Regions from separate parts of the Homo sapiens genome. Here region 1 is linked to region 2. The links are contacts of gene promoters, found by promoter capture Hi-C in blood cells and fetal thymus (Javierre and others, 2016). All regions are on one chromosome and are shown on one strand. Each heading gives the region's core, a stretch centred on a gene start or on the middle of the fragment in contact. The rest is flanking DNA. Distances are from core to core; before and after follow the strand shown.

Region 1 (2,700 bases), core at 55-2,554, 2.2 Mb before region 2:
TTGTAGTTTAGTAAGAAAGACAGATAAATACACTATGATGGTATAGAGTAAGTGCAGTACTAAAAGTTAAGTGTAAGGTACTATAAAATCACATAACAGGGACACTAGGTTGGAGGGACATGATCAGGGAAAGCTGTGCAGAGGAAGTAGATATGAGATATGAATGATATTAAGGTGTTAGCCAGATCAAGGGGATGAGTGCTTGTCCAGATTGGTGAACATATACTATACAAAGAGACAGCTTTCCTAGAAGAAGAAATTAAAAATGAGGAAGACAAGGAAAGGACAGGGAAGTTTTTTTTGTTTGTTTGTTGTTTGTTTTTTGTTTTCTTTTTTGAGGCAGAGTCTCGCTCTGTCGCCAGGCTGGAGTGCAGTGGCACAATCTTGGCTCACTGCAACCTCCGCCTCCCGGGTTCAAGCGATTCTCCTGCCTCAGCCTCCCTAGTAGCTGGGACTACAGTTGCATGGCACCACACCCAGGTAATTTTTGCATTTTTAGTAGAGACGGGATTTCACCATGTTGGCCAGGATGGTCTCGATCCCTTGACCTTGTGATCTGCCCACCTCAGCCTCCCAAAGTGTTGGGATTACAGGCGTGAGCCACCGCGCATGGCCCAGGACAGGGAAGTTTTAAGAGAGGGGGCAAGATAGTATATGGCCATGCAAGCCGTGTCAGGGCATTTGAACTTATACAGGAGAGCAATGATGACTCTATAAAAGAGAGTAATGTAGTCGGACTTGCATTTTAGGAAGACCACTCTGACAGCAATATTTGTTTTAATATGTCACTTCTGTCATGCTAAAGTTTTCAGTACAGTGGATTCTGTGCAGAATTTAGGCAGAGATAGAGACGAAAAATTCAGGGTTTGCAATGATAGTTCACCTCATGAATTTCATCTACTTCTAAAGCTTATCCAATAGCATCAATATAGAAGATTCCCAGACCAAATCCTGGCTACCTATATCTTATCATTAATACAAGCGAAGTTATGGAGTAGCCTTAGTTTAAGACACCCTTTCATTATTCCTTCATTTCATTAAATCCTCTACCACCTGGTCCTCCTTTATTAATTTTTCCGTCATATTTCTTCCAGATGAGATATAACTTTTAATTGTTCCATATATGGCAACAATGTCATGCTTTCTGACGATGGAGAGTGTTCTTTTCTGATTTTTCCTGTGGGAAAATGTGGAAGAGAAAAAACAAAATGTGAACAATTAGCAGAAATATTGATAATCTCTATACTATCACTCAAATACTTTCTCACTTAGCTATTCCTGTGTTTCAAGTTATCTGCCAGAAAGTTATAAATTTCCCATGTAAACAGATATCTAGAAATGAAGTTTAGAATTTTACTGAGCTGAGTTTGAAAAGCTGGAATTTACATTTTTGAATTGATGTAATCTCTCTACAATGGAACTGGTTAATGGATTCATTGAAAAAAAAACATATACAGGGATCTGTAGTGTGATTTACTTATTCCTGTTTTGAAATATGATTAAATATGACTCAGTAAGGAAGAGGTTAAAAATGTGACAGGTAGAGGGTCGTTTCTTCTCTTACAGTATGTCATAGTTCTGGCAAGCCAGTTACAGATCACAGCTGCCTAATTTGTACCCTTGTTCTTAAGTTGGTGGAGGCAGATAGTGGGTCAACAGAAGGAGAGCGTCTATGGAAGGAATCTCAGAACAAGCTTCACATTATTTGACTCTAACCTAGATTATTTCATTTTTATGATTAACAGCTAAAAAATCGCACATTACATTTAAAATTCATTAGAAACCACAATTTAGAGTGACATTGATGCACATTCATTATGCACTGAAGATAGCGGCCTCCCACTATTAAAAACTGTTATTCATCCTTTCTTGTTATTTCATTTCTTTGATGCTTGAGTTAGTGCTTCCAGTTTCTATTAACTGCTCCCGTGAGGTGAACTGAGAAGACTCTGGTTTTTAACCTGACTCCATGTTCTAGCTAGAGAGATTACCAAGATGAGGCTACAGGGATCAAAGAATACTACTTAACGTTTATTAGATGGGAAGGAACAGGGAGTTGCCAGAGTAGTAGCAGGACCCCTTAAGGCTGGAGTAATTCATCGAAACAAAAATGTATTATGTGTCAGCCAGGATAAGAGTAGTTGTAAAGATAAAAGCAATAATCATAACAAAGTAGAGCTGGTACCTATTCAGTATGGGGGAAATCCAAAAACAGATTGGAAACAGGAGGGGCTACCCATCTGCTATGAACAAGTGGGTCATTCACCACTGTGTATTGAGAAAATAATGGTGGAGTGAAAGATCCCCCACAATGAAATAGGGCTGAAAGAAGATAGAGGATTTTAGTCATTTATTCGCCTAGAATTTCTCCTTTTTCTTTCTTTAACGAAACAACTTGAAGGTATAATTCTTTTTTTCTTATTTATTTTAATTGACAAATAACATTTGTATATATCTATCATGTATAACATGTTGTTTTGAAATATATATACACTGTGTAATGGCAAAATTGGGCTAATTAACATTCACATTACCTCTCATCATTTGTGTTTTGTCATGAGAACACTTAAAATCTACTCTGAGTAATTTTCAAGAATACAATACATTGTTATTAACTATAGTCACCATGGTGCACAATACATCTCTTCAACTTAATTGCTCCCATCTAACTGAAACTTTGTATCCTTTGGCCAACATCTG
Region 2 (2,700 bases), core at 97-2,596:
ACATGTGTTCAACCTATGGAAAGATGTGGTTGGGGAAAAATAATTTTTATCAACCAAAAGTATGAAATCTTGCAACATTGAGGATTGTGTTTCATAGAAGAGAGAACATGTTTCTTGCATTCTTCAGCTCTTAACCACTGTTTTGGGAGTCTCACCAAGTTTTTGGGATGACTAAAGATCTAGAAACATCGCCCCTCCTCATTAATGTATTCAATAAATTATTTATTTTATAGAAAAGATGGAGATGAGTCAAAGAGCTACAAGAGACAGATAACCCACCAATCACATGCTGAACCAGGCAATTACAAAATTTCAATTTCAATTTCAAGAGGTGTTTAGTCCTCACATAAGGGAGAAAATATGGTGCATCTACTTAAGAACAGGACGATGTCCTATTGTGTTGAATCCTTAGCCCTTAGATGCTCAACAAATATTTGTAGACTGCTTAGTTTACCATTCAGGAAATATACACATCACTTTTCCTATTGCAGGTCCTGGGCTAGATCTTGCTAAGGACAAGGACATCCTAATACCCAGGAGGGGAATTAGATCCAGCTTGGCATAATGCAAAGCGGAATTAATAAAGGTTTTAGCCAACACCCAAAGGGCAGAGCAGTGGAGATGGAAATAAGACTTACTTCATATTTCGCAGGAGCTCTCATTTCCTTTTTAGCGCCTGCGTTTTCAGAGCAAATGCCCTTCATAGGGGGGCGCAAAAGCAGGTGAGCCCAGAGAACAGAAGCGGCAGCAGGCTAGCGGAGAAGTGAGAAAACAGGGAAAACCGGGGGACTCCTGGGCCCGTCTGGTTTTGAAAAGAGGGCAAAATGCATTTAGTCACTTTTCTCCTCCGTCCCGCAAATCTCTCAGGATGTGAAATTGTCCGGGGAGGGGCGTGTTACATCACTGAGAGACAGAGGACCTGTCCTTGCTCCAAGAGGCACAGCTTAGGAAACCTAGGAATCCACCTCTGGCGCCTTCTAGAAAACCGCCCACTCCTGCTCCCTAAGAAAAGGAAACCCACGTGACTGGGCGAAAGGGGAGAGCCCGGCGACCTGGAGCCAGCGAGGCTGGGGGCCCGGCGAGGGCCGGGCTGGGCGCGGGGCTGCTTCAAGGAACTGCCGCGCGCTGCGAATCGGGGGCGCGGGCTGGCACTGGGCTCCGCCCGCGGGCCAGAGGCGGGGTAGGGGCGGGACAGGCGCGAGCCTCCGGCACTGGGAACTGGAGCCGAAGCCACCAAGTGCTGGCCCTCCGCCCCTCCCCGTACGGCACCGCCTCCCGCAGCCCGGGGAGGGGCCGGGGCGGAGCGAGCCCGGCCGAGCCGGGAGGAGCGGGCGCGGGCGCTGGCAGAGCGCGGCGCGGGGCCGGCGGCGAAGGTCCGGGGTGGAATCGACGTCGCTGCGGCTGCCGACGACCCACACCCGGCCGGCCGCCTCCGCAGACCCACCTTGGCCGCGCGGCAGGGGGCGCGCAGAGCCCCGAGGGAGCGAGTCCCCGCGCGTGGCAGCTCGGCGGCTTCTCCCTTCGGGAGGTCCGGCTCCCGGCTCTCCGGACCCGCCTGGCGTCCTCGCCTGCGGCGGGGCGGACGACAGCGGCGCCCAGGAATGGCTTCGGCGGGCAGCGGCATGGAGGAGGTGCGCGTGTCGGTGCTGACCCCCTTGAAGCTGGTCGGGCTGGTGTGCATCTTCCTGGCGCTGTGTCTGGACCTGGGGGCGGTGCTGAGCCCGGCCTGGGTCACAGCTGACCACCAGTACTACCTGTCGTTGTGGGAGTCCTGCCGGAAACCCGCCAGCTTGGACATCTGGCACTGCGAGTCCACGCTCAGCAGCGGTGAGGGCCTGGCGCGCCGCGACCCCTGCCTCCCGCCCCGGACTGCCCCGCGCCCCACTGCCAGGACAGTCACCGCCTGTCCCCACGTCCCCGCATCCTCTGCCCTGGCCCGTCCCACCCCGTCCAGGCCCTTCTCGGATCCTGGGGCTCCCGCCACCTCCCTGGCATCCACCCCTCTTCCCTCCCCATCCCTGGTCGCCAAACCTAAAGCGACAGCCCACGCCCTCTCCCTTCCCCGTGGCCATTCCTCCTGTTCTGGAGTAACACGTACGCTATTTTGGGTATTTGTTATCATTTGAGGCGAGAGCCATGTGGCTGTGTAAAAAAATGCGACGCCTTCCACACCCCCGTTAAAAAAGAAGCAGGCAAAAACGCCCCAACTCCACCGAGATGCTGCGGGGGTTCGCTGTTCGGTCTTCCCCACTCTTTTTCCTTCCTCTCTCGAGGACGAATTTGCCTAGTGTTCACATTTCTGCCGGTTCCACTCCACCTTATCTGCGTTTTCACCAATGTATTTCGGTTTGGATTTTATTTCCTTACGTTTTTGATGGATATGAAGAGTTGAGAGAGGGACAGGCTTGTTTTCCTTTCCTTTTTTGGTGACGCCGCCGTTGATTGTGAGTTGCCTTTCTTTCTCTGCCACTCTAAGTAACTCTTCTCTCCTCCAGACCTTTCTTTTCTCCATGAGCTACTCACAGATGCCTAGAAAGTTGTGCTTTATTCCGCCAGCGCTGAAAGCTGCAAATGGATAAGATGGGGGTGGGGAGTGGAGAATAAGGTAGCTACTGAGGCTACCAGTCCCAGGGGGCTTTACTGCTTTCCGCCCTCCCTGACCCTCCAGTTGCCTTCCCCGGCGCCCCAGTTATGCCCTTA

What was found. The method cuts DNA at HindIII sites, captures the fragments that hold promoters and counts their contacts. A CHiCAGO score of 5 or more calls a contact.
Region 1: a fragment that was not itself captured here is called in contact with the fragment with the promoter of TMEM47 in region 2 in 1 of 17 cell types (M0 macrophages); the score reaches 6.2 in M0 macrophages.

What each region holds. Positions count from the first base shown.
Region 1 is chrX:36,877,524-36,880,223 of GRCh38, reverse strand. No RefSeq gene overlaps it. Among named protein-coding and RNA genes, the nearest start is that of FAM47C, 130 kb to the left of the region's middle. The HindIII fragment of the contact is 785 bases long and covers 912-1,696 here.
Region 2 is chrX:34,655,931-34,658,630 of GRCh38, reverse strand. TMEM47 (transmembrane protein 47) reads left to right here and starts at 1,346. Exons shown (of 3, transcript NM_031442.4): 1 at 1,346-1,827. The coding sequence starts at 1,602. The HindIII fragment of the contact is 6,187 bases long and covers 1-2,700 here.